Linked DNA regions of Homo sapiens: region 2 is linked to region 1. The links are contacts of gene promoters, found by promoter capture Hi-C in blood cells and fetal thymus (Javierre and others, 2016). All regions are on one chromosome and are shown on one strand. The core of a region is centred on a gene start or on the middle of the fragment in contact, and the rest is flanking DNA. Distances in the headings are between cores, read along the strand shown. Region 1 holds the start of TARS3 (threonyl-tRNA synthetase 3). Region 2 overlaps PCSK6 (proprotein convertase subtilisin/kexin type 6).

Region 1 (7,266 bases), core at 1,590-4,089:
ACAGGCACGCACCACCCTGCCAGACTAATTTTTGTATTTGTAGTAGAGATGGGGTTTCGCCATGTTGGCCAGGCTGGTCTCGAACTCCTGACCTCAAATGATTTACCTGCCTTGGCCTCCCAAAATGCTGGGATTACAGGCGTGAGTCACCGTATCCAGCCGCAATTTTTCAACTTTAGTGATGTGAAAGTCATATGCATTCAGTAGAAACTGTACTTTGAGTATCCATACAACCATTGTGTTTTTCACTCAGTACAGTATTCAATAAATTACATGAGATATTCAACACTTCATAATAAAATAGGCTTTATGTTAGAGGATTTTGCCCAACTGTAAGCTAATCTAAGTGTTCTGAGCACTTTTAATGTAGGCTAGGCTAAACTACGATGATCACTAGCTTACGTGTATTAAATACATTTTTAACTCACATTGGTTTTATTGGGACATAACCCAACTGTAAGACTAAGAGCATGTGTACTTCCCACCTCCAAAAGGCTCCTCTCTGCCTATCTAACTTCTCCTTAGCTCTAAAGGTCCACCTCAAAGCCTGCCTCCTCTACCTATTTTACCCGCTGGCATCTCCCTTTTTTTTTTTTTTTTCCTTTGAGACAGCCCCACGCCCAGCCCCCATGACACCTCCCTTTTCTACTGTTTACAGAACGTGTACAGAGTCACACATTACAGCACTTACTTGTATACCATCGTACTCTGTTCTCTAGTTGTTTGTCCTGAGTCTGCCTGAATTCCTCAACCAGACTAACTTCTTTGGGCCTAGGTATTCCTTCTTCACTCCTACCAAATGTTGATGCTAGATAAATACTTACTGATTGTTTTAATGCTTTATATACAAAAGCAAAGTAGCTAGTTTCTCGAATACAAAAAAAAAAAAAAGACCGGGGGCGGTGGCTCACGCCTGTAATCCCAGCACTTTGGGAAGCCAAGGTGGGCGGATCATGAGGTCAGGAGATCGAGATCCTCCTGGCTAACACGGTGAAACCCCATCTCTACTAAAAAAAAAAAAAAAAAAAAAAAAAAATTAGCCGGGCTTGGTGGCATGCACCTGTAGTCCCAGCTACTCAGGAGGCTGAGGCAGGAGAATCGCTTGAACCTGGGAGGTGGAGGCTGCAGTAACCGAGATCATGCCATTGCACTCTAGCCTGGGCAACAAGAGCAAACCTCCGCCTTCAAAAAACAAAAAAAAACCAACCAAACAAAAAAAACCAACTCTAGTACTCTAGTAGCACAACTTAAATAGATTAAATACACGTGTTTATTAAACATGGGCAGCTCATTTCTCAAGACATCTCATATTTAAGGCTTGAAAAGTTTTAAATACACTAATGTGACCCAAATAATAATTTAATCAGTAATTTTTATTGGAAATCCTAGGTAATTAACTATATACACATATTTAAAATTACAGGTAGTATTTTATATTGTTTCCACAGCAACAACTTACCTCGCTGTCAGCCTCGCTTTCCTTCATTTTCTTCTTTTTCATGTCCTTGTCTTGGCTTTGACTAGGAGGAGGCTGAAAGATAAATTATAAATGACTCACATCAATGGCAAGAAAAAGCAACACATTTTAAGAAGAGAGTCATGCCAGCAGGCTGCAAGTGCCCCGTGTTTAGAGGCTCATAGCTGGGCTCTCCTGACCACCAGCTACAGCTCTCAGTGGGCAAGTCATTCTCCAGGGTTCAGTCCTTCCTGTCACACTGTTGCTAAGCACATTTAATATATTGTGCTCTTGAAAACCTTTTGTCCTGAACTTTAAACAAATAATGTGGCTGGAAAATGTGTGGTTGCTGCCCGCCACATCAAATGCACTATTTCCTGAAGATGTTGCTAGTTCACCGCAGCTGTCCTTCCTAAAGGACTGCAGAACATCTCAGCCTGAGAAGCTTCAGGACTCAGAAAGTATGATGTTAAAAGAAGATAATTTATCCTTTCTACAAATCATAAAATACTGTATTAAATAAAAATGTTAAATATACAGCTATCCTCTCAAGATGAACCACCAAAACAAGAGCACAAAAAGCGAAAACTTCTCGTCCAAAAAAAACCCAACAACAAAAAAGAACCAGAGGGAATGAGAGTTTACATACGCAGCTGTTAGTCTTTCTGACCAAGGAAAGAATGAGTTTTAAACACTCCAGCATTTTTTCAAACAAATGAAAACACTATTTCTGCTACTGAAAAAGATGCGTGGCAGGCTCTTTAATGGACGAATTGAGAAATCAACAGCATTTGGTTAAGTCTGGCGACTGCTGGAAATCCGGCGGCTCCCCAGGCCACACGGGACCACCGAGCAGGGCAGGGCGGGCCAGCCGCAGGGCACTGGGAGGGCACTCCCCCGGGGCGCCCCCGCACCTGCCCCCGCAGTTGAAAACCTTTCGGTGCGCACCGTCTCGGCCCGCCCCGCCCGCGTCCTCTCCAGTGTCCCCACCGCCCGGTTACCTGTGCGCCGGCCTCCTGCGCCGCCTCTAGCTCCGCGCTCTCCAGCGTGGCCTGGCGGCTCCGCTCCTCGGCGAGGCACAGCCGCAGGCTGCACAGGCGGTGGCGCAGGTCGCAGTTCTCGGCCCGGAGCTGCGCCACCTCCCGCGTGAGGCACGGCCCCTCCGCCTGGCAGCTGTAGGGCGCGTTCAGCTGCTCGTCCCTCAGGCGCTCGACCTCCGACCACAGCCAGCGGATGTCCTCCTCCTGCCGCTCCAGGCGCGACGCCACGGCCTCCGCCGCCAGGGCCTCGGCCGCCATCGCGGCCTCCCTCAGGCACCGACGCCGAGCGGGGTGCCCGCGACTGCGGCGAGGGCGACGCGGACACTCAGCGCACGGCAGAAGACAGGGCTCCCGGGAGGGGCGGGGCGATGGGGCGGGGACGGAGCCATGGGGCCTCGTTGGAGCCGAGGCCTACACGTTGCAGGGGCGGGGCGCTGGGCGGGGAGGGGCGGGGCCTAGGCCAGATACCCTGCAGGGGCGGGGCGGGGCGGGGCGGGGCCTGAGGCCAGATACCCTGCAGGGGCGGGGCGGGGCGGGGCCTGAGGCCAGGCCCACCTTAGGGTCACGGGCAGTGGGGAAATGGGGTCTGAAGGGCCTCCCCTGCCTTTCGAGGCCTGTCTAGAGGCTATTGGCAGTAGTTTTTAGTCCGTTGAAACGAAAATCTTCCAAAACCTTGCAAAAAGGCCATCGTCTGCGTTCTCCAAAAAGGCTTCACCCTTTCTTCCTCTTGAATTCTGGCAGTCACCATTCTTTTGCCTTGCAAACAGGTTCTAAAAAGTGGCCATTCATTATAAATGGACTTTCTGGCCTTTCGTGCCAAACTTGCCCAAGTACTGAGGCCTCTGGGCCAGGGCATATAGAAAATCGCTGTGAAATCTAAATCCGACCAGCACGAAATTACTGGCTCCTTGAGTCTAGGGCAAATGCCACATATATCTTTGTATCCCTCTTAACCATGAGCGTGAAACTTCCTGGAGCAGGAACAGAAATTGATTTTTATCACTATTCTTAGGGCTTAGGATGTGACAAACACTGTTCTAAACTCTGTAACAGTAGTAACTCCTTTAATCTTCATAACAGGAGATACTGTTATATCCGCTTATAGCTGGAGAAATTGAAGCACAGTGAGACTGTGTTACTTGACTAAGGTCACACAGCCACTACATGACAAAGGGGGAATCAAACTCAGATAGTCTGATGCCAGTTTCTACACACTTAACACTAGTACTTTTCAACTTTGGCAGAATTTAATTGAGCATGTCATATAATGTGATACAGGTAATAATGCCCTTATAAGAGTCCTGAAGTGGAAGAGCTTAGCTTGGACTGGTGTGGTTTGAGAAAGGGAGAAAATTTTGAGAAAGGGGAAAAGGTTTATTTTGCTCTGGAAAATAAAGGTTGGGAGATGTTAGCAAGGAGGAAAAGCAGGTAAATTCCACTCCAGGAGCAGAATCAGTGCAGGAGAAGGAGCGGAGGGGGACAAGCTCATTGGATTAAGCTAAGTGGAATCCCAAACAGCACCCAGGAGGAGATTCCATGAAGTATGTTGCTAACCAATATCACTGTATCTTTTTTAGTCCTTCCTCAGGAAGCCTCTGGATACAGTTACATAGGACCCACTGACTCCTCATTATTCATCATTTCTCAATCCACTGCCATGGAGTTTCTGCTTCTGCCATTCTGTCATGACCAACACATCACTGAATGTCATGGACCCACTTAAGCCACCCCAGAATTTCCTCGGGACCCTCTGGAATTTGTCTCTCTTGGGTCTCCATTCCCAATACCTAGGCAACCACCAGTCTGCTTCCTGTCACTATAGGTTAGTTTGCATTTTCTTGATTTTTCTACACATGGAACCACACCGTATGTCCTCCTTTTGTTTAGCTACTTTCAGTCGGCACAATAATTTTGATATTTACCTATGTTTGTGTGTATCTATTGTTCTTTTTTTCTGAGTAGTATTCCATTGTATGGATATACCATAATTTGTTTATTCATTTGTTGATGGAAAATTTGGGTTATTTCCAGGTTTTAGCTAGGATCACACAATACCCAGTGAGCCCATTGGGTTTCCAAACTCACACTGTAGTTATTTCGTCAGTTCCAGAATGCAGAGTTTGAATAGATATACTCCAAACTGGCAGAATCCCTACAGTGTTTCCCTGACCCTCGGACATAAGGCTATTATTCTGGTAGGAAAGGCCAAGCAGAAACCACTAGAACTTTATCAACATACAAAAATAATAAATCAAAAGTAATACTGCATTCCTGAAGGAATTGCACAGATTACTGTTGCCTTCAAGAACTTGAAAGATGCAGGGGTGGAGATTCTCATCACACCCCATTTACCTTACCTTACCATCCCATTTACATTTAGCCTATGTAGAAGACAAATGGATGTTAGAGAATTATAGTAGATTAATATAAATTTAATTAGATGGTGATTCCAGTTGCAGCTGCTCTTCCAGATATGATTTCATTGTTGGAGTAAATCAGCATAACCCCTAGCACCTGATATGCACCTATTGAGCTGGCTAATACTTCTTTCTTTATATCTATTAGTTAAGGGCTATCGAGCACCATTTTATTTCAGCTGACAAGGCTGGCAATACACCTTCACAGGGTATCACCACAAGACAATATAAACTCTTTAGTTTTATGTGATAATCTAGTCCACAAGGACTTTGATTGCTGCTGTATTCCATAGGATATCATGCTGGTGTCCTATCATTGATGATAGCATGCTGATTTTCCCTGATGAGCAGGAAATAGCAAATACTATAGTCACCTTGATAAGGCATGTGGAGGTGGTAGAGAAGGAAATATATCCCCAAATGTAAAAATTCAGAGGGCTGTCACCTCAGTGAAACTTCTAGGCATTAAGTAATTCAGAGCATTTAGAGATGCCACTTTGGAGGCAACATATACCTCATTTGGACATTATTTTTCTAAACCAATTACTATGTAACTCAAGACTGCCAGTGTTAAGTAAGACTGAGAACCTAACAAGATTCTGAAACAGGTAATGCTGCTATGCAAGCTACTTTTCTATGTGGGCCACATGAGCAACAGATCTGATGGTGCTTGAAATGTCTGTGGCAGATAAGAGTTACCCAACCTAGAGTGCAGTGGTAAGATCTTGGCTCATTGCAACCTCGACCTGCTGGGCTCAAGCAACCCTCCCACCTCAGCCTCCTGAGTAACTGGGACTACAGGTGCATACCACCATGCCCAGCTAATTAAAAAAATTTTTGTAGTGATGGGGTCTTGCTACATTGCCCAGGCTGGTCTTGAACTCCTGTCCTCAAGTGATCTTCCCACCTTTGCCTCCCAAAGTGTTGGGATTAACTATTCTGCTTTTGAGAAGCAGCTTCTGGTTTGCTACTGGGCCATAGTAGAGATTGAGTGCTTCATCAGGGACCATCAAATTACCATGCTACCCAAGTTTCCCTCCATGAATTGAATGTTATTTGACCCATCAAGCCTAAGGTTGGGTATATACAGCAGCATCCTATCATTAAATAAAAGAGGTGTATGCCAGATCAGGCTCAAACAGATTATGTACGAGTTTTTGGCATAAACAAGTCACCCAGATGATCACAACTCCTGTGGCCTCATGAAAAGTTTTATATGACCAGTTGACTGAGGAAGGTAAAATTTGGCCATGATTTACAGATGGTTCTGCACTCTTCTGGAGCAGAAGCTTCTTTAAGTTGACGCCTGAGAATTTAATTGCTTCCTTGATTTTTGGTTTGATAAAATGTTTCAGGCTCATCTTATATTCAAGGAATCTATCATTTCTCCAAGGTGGCCTAGTCCATTTTAATGGGAATTGTAATTTAAATCACACAATGTGGGTCCTGGCAGCAGTCTTTGTTTCTAGGACTTTTCTGTATTTAGGATTGCCAGATAAAATACACAGTGCACATTTACATTTGAACTTCAGATAAACAAAAAATAATGTTTATATAAATATGTCCCATGCAATATTTGAGACATATACTAAAAAATTATTCAAGCCAAAAAGCATTAAATAAGACAAAGAAGGACATTTTGTAATGTTAAGTGCCACATTCCACAATGAAAATATAGCAATTATGAATATCTATACACCTGTAATTTGAAAAAAACTACAGGAAACTAAAGGAGAAAGAGAAACACACTAATAAGAGGAAAATAACAAGGCTGGGTGTGGTGGCTCATGCCTGTAATCCCAGCACTTTGGGATGCCGAGGTGGGCAGATCACCTGAGGTCAGAAGTTCGAGACCAGCCTGACCAACATAGAGAAGTCCCATCTCTACTAAAAGTACAAAAAATTAGCTGGGTGTGGTGGCGCATGCCTGTAATCCCAGCTACTTGGGAGGCTGAGGCAGGAGAATTGCTGGAACCTAGGAGGTGGAGTTTGTGGTGAGCTGAGATCATGCCATCGCACTCCAGCTTGGGCAACAACAGCAAAACTCCATCTCAAAAAAAAAAAAAAAAAGGAAAATAACAAACCACTCTCTGAGTACATTCAAGTGCCCCCACAAAAAAGTAAGGATGTAAAAGACCCAAACAATATAATTAAAAAGTAGATATTTTGAATATATTCACATTATCAATATGTATATATAAATATCTATCTATATAAACTATACCCTGAAAATGGAAGATGCACCTTCCTCTTAAACAAATGTATAGATTCTTCATATAAATTAATCATTTGTAGAGCTCAAGAAAGACCTCAGTAGGTTTCATAAAGTAGAAATATTAGGTACAACACTCTC
Region 2 (7,396 bases), core at 1,976-4,475, 410 kb before region 1:
TAGGCCAGGTGTGGTGGCTCACACCCGTAATCCCAGCACTTTGGGAGGCTGAGGTGGGTGGATCACTTGAGGCCAGGAGTTCGAGACCAGCCTGGCCAACGTGGTGAAACCCGGTCTCTATTAAAAATACAAACAATTAGTGGGGAGTGGTGGCGGGTGCCTGTAGTCCCAGCTACTCGGCAGGTTGAGGCAGGAGAATGGTGTGAATCTGGGAGGCGGAGCTTGCAATGAGCCGAGATCGCCCACTGCGCTCCAGCCTGGGCGACAGGCGAGACTCCATCTCAAAAAAAACGAAAACAAAAACAAAAATTAGCTGGGCATTGTGGTGCACGCCTGTAGTCCCAGCTACTCGGGAGGCTGAGGCATGAGAGTTGCTTGAATCCCAGAGGCAGAGGTTGCAGTGAGCTGAGGTCACACCAGTGCACTCCAGCCTGGGCGACAGAGTGAGAGTGTGTCTCCAAAAAAATTTTTTTTTAACCCAAAACATGGTTTCTCTGATTATCGACAGTGCAAAGGATGCATGCTGAGCGCGACATGGGCAGGGACGTCCCGCGTAGTCCACCAATGGGGTGTGAGCACCTTGCTATTCTGCTTCCCATCTTATCCCGCTGCTGCACGGTGTCTGCCCACAGCAGGGACCCAACAAATATGCATCCAGTGAACAAAGGGACGAAGGCCCCTCAGCAGCTCTGTAAATGGGCTCCTGTCCACAGTGGGGTGATGCAACATGCCCTCCCCGGCCCCTGGGGAAGATGCTGCCAGACTCTGCCCTCCAGGCACTCCTTTGCTGGACACAGCTGCCTGCCGTTCCCCGCCAGGAGGACCGTACCTTCGACACACTTTGTGGGGCAAGCCCGGCATCTCTTCTGGGTAGAAGCCCTCACCACAGGCTGGCACACACTTCCAGTCGTGGAAGTGGAAGTTTTTCGCACAGTGAATGCACTCTTCTCTGCCTGGCCCTGAGAGACACAGGAAAAGAAGCAGGTATCAGGGATGGCTGGCAGAAGACCATGCCCCAGGCCTGCTTCAGGGCCTTGTGAGATCAGGGGTACCATTCAGGAGCCCCCAGGCCACCACCACAGCTGCCATTTCCCAGGTTCTGTGAGCTGGGCCGTCCTCACCCACTCCCAGGAGGTGGGCATCGCCATCACCATTTCACAGACGGGGACATCGAGGCATGAGATGATCTCAGAGGGAGCACACCTGCCCACTGGCCGTGCCACGATGATGGGCCCTGTTTCCAACAGGCCTAGGCCCACCTCTGCTCCCTGAACACTTGGAAATCCAGTGCCAAAGTCTTCATATAAAAAATATAAAACAGCTCATTTATTTTTTGTATGGATACATGTTGAAATGGCAATATTTTAGACACATTAGGTTGAATAGGATATGTTACTAAAATTATTTTTGCCTGTTTCATTTGACTGTTTAAGATATGGTTACTAGGCAACTTCAAATTGCACCCGTGGCTTGCGTTTGTGGCCCTTCCATTGCACAGAACGCTGTAGAAGATGACGGGGGAAGATGAAAGAAGAGATCTTTGGGAATGGTGTTGACAGGTGTTTGGTGTGTACAGCCAGGGCGTTTTCAACAACAGAGAAACAAATGCCTAAGACTAAGGGTTTATAGGGCAGGGAGGAGAGACTCGAAGACACAACAGTTCTGAGCAAAGGGCCACGAGTCATGGAGGAAAACCTTCAGGTTGGCTCAGGGTCCGAGGAGGACCTGTCGACCTGGGTCAGATGTTGGACTAGTTGACTAGATAGCACCTCCTCTGGGCCAGGTGTCTCCAGGGAGCAACTGATGGGACGTCAGAGAGGGGCAGTGAAGTAGTCACTGACTGACAGCGGAGAGGGTTACAGGCAGGGAGGAGATTATCTCAGGGGCTCTATGATAATCACAATGCCCAGGTAAACCTCCTCACAGCTGCTTCAGTTCGATTGTGGTCGCAGATCGAGGCCTTGCAGTCTGCTCTGGACTCAGATGGGGCCTCTCGCTGCATCAAGGGAAAATCCCTTTGCAGAGGTTCCGGAGCCTGGAGGGCTCAAGCACAAGGCCCTGGGCTCTGGGGCTGGCTTCACACCTCAGAACCACAGCCGTAAGCCTGGGAGGGAATTCTGAGCTCCTGCAGGAGAAGCTCCTCCTTGGAGAGTCAGGAAGAGTGAAGCCGAGAAGGCCACAGGGTTTTGAGCAGGAGGCAGATGTAGGGACCTCAAGGGGCCTCTTGAGGACCACCGTCTTCATGGCAGGTGTCTCCCTCTCTTCCTGAGGTGCGGTGGAAGAGCTGTGCCCCGGGGGCGGGACTCTGTCTGGTTTATGTTGTTCTGGAGCAGAGGCTGCTCGTATGCTTTGGCCAATGCCGCCCCTCCCCATCACTGGTCTCTGGGAGCATCTGGTGGGTGGGTCTCATACACCAGGCGGGGTGCCACTCTGAGTGGGGTTTGGGAGCTGTTCAGGGCCTGCCGTTGTACCTCTCACGCCTCACCTGCTGAACCCGTCTTCCCCACTATCCTTCCTCCAGCACCAGGGTCCTTAACACCTGTGGAGCCTCCCAAGTGGGAAAGAAAGCTCATTCTTGTTTGTACTTAAGTTTCATGCTCAATGTATTAAGCTTCAAAGTTGTTAAAACACATTTATTTGGAGGTGGTGGCGATGGTGGCACACAAATGTAAATTCACTTAATGCCACCGAACTGTATGCCTAAAAATAGTCAAGATGGTACATTTTATGTGATGTGTATTTTACCGCAATAAAAAAGCTGTTAAAGTGGGTTGATTTTCTAAGCGACCTATTTTCTCAACTACTAAAAAATATGAATTTCATAACTCAGTGAAAGTCTTTTAAGGATTCCATTAAGTCGCAAGTCTCTATAGACTTTGAACACTTTAAAAGCACCCACAATCATAGCAATAAGAGCAGAACGGGCTGTGCTTATACAGGACCTGCTATGTTGTTTGCGGGGCCCAGTATAAAGTGAAAACATGGAGCCTTTGTTCAGAAAGCTGGAAGAATGTGCCACGACAGGGACTAAAACAGAAAGCGTTTTCCTTTCTTTTGAATCTCTCTTGGTCTGTTGTGGTGTTTCTCATTTGCTGTTTCAAGTAGTGCCGTCTCAGGCACAGGACGCTCATGCTTGAGGGCTGACCGTCACAGGTGCTTGGGGCACTGCCCCGCAACTTGGTATGTGTGTGCCCTGCAGGCTGTCAGCTGCTAATCCACATGCCATGCCCCAGGTGGGTAAGTCGCGTCCCACGGGGCCACTGCATTAACCCAGCTGTGCCAGCAGCCCCGAAGGATTACAACCTCCATGCCAGGACACACGGGGCACCTGGACTCAGGAGGATGAGAGGCTCATCTCGATCGAGTTGCCTGCCAAGTGCACTGGGGCACTGTGAGCCAAGGGTGGGGACAGATTCCGCCATGCCCTACCCCAAGCACTCATGCCTGACTCCGACCCTCCCCACGACTGTGCCCAGGCCCCTGGGTGGGTGGTGGACAGCAGTGGTCACTGAATGGGAACAGGGAGGGGAATGCCAGGTGGGCCTGGGTCTCCAGGGCACAGGAAGTAGGCAGCTGAGAACAGCTGCCTCCAATGAGGTCCACACCTGACATGGAACAAGAAGCCTCCAGTGACTCAGAGGAGGAAAATGAGGTCTCTCTCCCAAGAGGCTGCCAGGGGATAGATGTACACGTTCCCAGGAGCTTAGAAAGAACCCCAGGCCAGAGGGCATGGGGCGCAGGGGAGACCCCCAGAGCTGTGGACCTGCTCACCAATGAATTTAATAGCTGAAGTGATGGAGAAGTCACTGGTTTGAGATGAGAATTCCAAGGGACTCTATAAAGCTTTTTGCCATCAGGCAATCTGGGGACTCAAAGAAAGAAAAGTGAATTATTGAAATCAAAGAGTTGCAAAACTGTATGCCTGAATGTTATGGATTCAAGTGACTACGAAATTTAAATAAGCAACATCAGTGATGCTGCCTAATCCATCTGGGCTAAATAAGTCAAAGAAATAATAAAAATAATAGACAAAAAGGCGACAGGCAAACTGCTGGGGAAATCTGCTGAGCTGCCAGCGGGTGGAACCCATCCAGATGCTGAGCACTGTGGCCTTGAGGGCTGCCCCAGGAGGGAACTGAGGAGGACATGTCTCCCCTGGGTGGTCTGAGGTCAGCCTGGCAATCATAGGAGGACACTGGCCTTGGCCACAGCCTTGTTCATCAGGCCTGTCTATTCCAGGACATACGGCAGGGAGCTGCATGGGGTGCTCATGGCCGGCCACGTGGGGAGGGGTGTGCCCATTCTGCAGGATTTCTGAGGCACAGTAGTATCATGGAAACTGGTTTAGCAGAGACTTAATTCTGTTTTTTTTTTTTTTTTTTTGACAGAGTCTTACTCTGTCGCCCAGGCTGAAGTATGTAGGGGTGTGATCTCAGCTCCTTGCAACCTCCACCTCCCGGTTTCAAGCAATTTTCATGTCTCAACCTCCCCAGTAGCTGGGATTACAGGCGCCTGCCACCAAACCTGGCTAATTTTTGTATTTTTAGTAGAGATGGGGTTTCACCATGTTGGCCAGGCTGGTCTTGAACTCCTGACCTCAGGTGATCCACCCGCCTTGGCCTCCCAAAGTGCCGGGATTACAGGCATGAACCACTGTGCCCGGCCAGTAGAGACTTAATTCTTAAAGTATTACTGCAGAAAAAGCTCATATGATGTGAGTTTCTTAGAAAGGACCAAAGTACCAAGGACAGGAAGGAGAGAGGAGAAAACTTAACCCAAAACATATCCGAGCCCACAGACTGATGGTGCACTTCAACTTACTGTGCAAATAGCTCTGCAAAACAAAATCCAATAAAATGAATGAATTCTCTGCTATTCTGCATAAAAACTGTGCCTGGGAGACATCTGTGCCATCATCTTTGTGGGCAATTATAATACATGTAAAATTGTTTATAGAATTCTTTTCCTCTTTGAAAAAATGTTCAAAATAAGTGAAGATAGGCACAAAGAACTAAGGCTATGTTTGAAAACATCCCCATCCCCACCTGGATCCATTCCCGCCTCTCCCAAAGCCCTCTCAATGTTTATGGTGTTGTGTTTCTGTCCGCGCCGTTCCACAGCAAGAGCTGAGCTCTGAGACAAGATGGCTTATGAGTGGTGAGCATCTCTTATCCCTTTCCCCATCTGAAATAAGCCACTGCCTGGCTGGGTTTCTAATGAGAACCTCAGGCTGCGTGTTCAAAGTGGGCCTTTGCATTGTTTTGGGATTTTGTTTCAAATTTAAAAACATGGTTTTAAAAAAAATTTCCAACAAAACGTTTTCCTTTTGTGGAGAACGGGGTCTCACAGCTTTGCTGCCCAGGCTGGTCCTGAGTTCCTGGGCTCGAGCTGTCCTCCCATCTCTGCCTCTCTAAGTGCTGGGGTTATAGGCATGAGCCACTGCAATGTACATAAAATCTACCATCTCAGCCATTTTTAAGTACACAGTTCAGCAGCATTAAGTACATTCACACTGTTATGTAACCATTGCCAGCATCTATCCTTAGAACAATTGTCATTTCTCAAGTTGAGACTCTGTAACCATTAAACATTAAATCCCCACTCTCCCGGCCCCCAGTCCCTGGTAGGGCCTTTGTACCTTGTTTTGCCCTTGCATTTTAATGCTGCAATAAATGCAGAAGCCCACGAAGTCCTAGGGCTTTCTCGGGTTCAAGGCAGCTAGCCTACGCTTGGGTGACGCTGGCCCGAGGCCTCCGCAGGCGGTGAACTCACCCACGCAGGTTCCGCAGGTGTGATGGCATTCCCCACATCTGATCAGCTCTGAGTCAAAGTAGGTGCCTGGCTCACAGTCAGGAATGCAGCTGCCCCGTGCAAGGCTGTTGAAAAGAAAGAGGCAGATTTCCACATCCATTCCAAAAGTCTAATTATGACTTGCCCTCTAGCACCTTTCCCAAGAGGAGATGTAAGTGGCTGAGGCACAGTTCTTTGTGTCACCGAAAGTTCTCAGCTAAGGAAAGTCGGGAAAGCCATCCCGCAGTCCGCTGGGGGCCCAGCAGGAAGGGGTACAAGGCCCTGGGAAGCAAAGCTCCCATCACCAGGCAGCAGGCGCCAGGCTCCGTCCTTGACCCAGTGATAGCTTTTTCTTACTGTCATTTCTCCAACTCGAATCCAAACCCCATGAAGAGAAGTGGAGCTGTGTGGGTCATCACTGGTGGCACGCTAGCTCAGTCTCAGTGTCAAGTCCCTCTTGAAGTGTTGGCATTTATGGCGTGTGACGGGGCTGTCGGCTACAAGGCTGGCCCTGAACCCCAACCCGCTCTTGCCTCTCTTGCTTGAAACCTTGGAACCTTCTGCAGCTTCGCAATGAACTTGAAATAAGACGCCCTCTGGAGCCCCAGCAGGCCTGTCAGATGCAGCCCCTACCTTCCTCTTTCGCCCCATTTGTGCCCTCACTTCACTCCAGCCAGCCGAGTGCTGGACAGAGACACAGATGCTGAGCTAGACCACCCACGTGGATGGCTTCTGCCACCTTCCCAGTGTTCGACCCCAAGCAAGCCAGCCAGCCCCTCTACATCTGTTTCCCTTCCTGTTAATTGGTTTCTACATCATAAAGTTGCTTGGAGGACTCAATGAGCTAATACCCATAAACATTTCAGTGTCTGGCACACAGCAGTGTGAATCAATATCACCTACTATTATCTCTTTAGTTCCTGAGATTATACTGTGTACAGTCTGTGACGTACATGTTCTAGATGGGTTTGCCATACTGAGCAAGGGCTCTGGGGTGCATCTGTCAGACCCGGAGACTCCTGCTATGACACTGGGATTTATAATAAGAAATATGTGAAGAGAAAAAGAAAAAAAAAAGGAAATATATGTTCGGTCTTTGTCCTGGCACACAGCTCCTAAAACCCTTGGAATTATCAAAGTGCTAAATGTCTTTAATAACTGATAGCTGGGGGTTCCTGGGCAGCCTCTAGACAGGGGCTGGCTGCCAGGGAACCAACCATTGATCAGAGCTTTGGAATTTTTAGCCCTACTACTCTGACTTCCCTCCTGGGAGGTGAGAGGGGCTGAAGGCTGAATTGATCACCAATGGCCAATGATGTAATCAATCATGGCTATGTAACAAAACCTCCATAAAAACCCAAAAGGTCAGGGTTTGGAGAGCTCTGGGGTGGTGAACAAGAACACAACCACATCCTGGGAGGGTAGCCCAGCCCAGCCCCATAGGGATGGAAGGTCCAGCGCTCAACCCTTCCAAACCTCACCCTCCGCATCTCTTCATCTGGCTGTGTGCCATATCCTTTGTAATAAATGGGCACATGTAAGTAAAGTCTTTCCCTGTGAGCTGCTTTAGCCAATTAATCGAACCCAAGGAGGGGTCATGGCAAGT

What was found. The method cuts DNA at HindIII sites, captures the fragments that hold promoters and counts their contacts. A CHiCAGO score of 5 or more calls a contact.
Region 2: a fragment that was not itself captured here is called in contact with the fragment with the promoter of TARS3 in region 1 in 1 of 17 cell types (monocytes); the score reaches 6.3 in monocytes.

Annotation. Positions count from the first base shown.
Region 1 is chr15:101,721,634-101,728,899 of GRCh38, forward strand. TARS3 (threonyl-tRNA synthetase 3) reads right to left here and starts at 2,840. Exons shown (of 19, transcript NM_152334.3): 1 at 2,458-2,840; 2 at 1,460-1,531. The coding sequence starts at 2,754. RefSeq lists a silencer at 2,236-3,125. The HindIII fragment of the contact is 4,301 bases long and covers 1,900-6,200 here.
Region 2 is chr15:101,312,547-101,319,942 of GRCh38, forward strand. PCSK6 (proprotein convertase subtilisin/kexin type 6) reads right to left here. Exons shown (of 22, transcript NM_002570.5): 19 at 5,773-5,876; 20 at 830-959. Among named protein-coding and RNA genes, the nearest start is that of PCSK6-AS1, 18 kb to the right of the region's middle. The HindIII fragment of the contact is 1,232 bases long and covers 2,610-3,841 here.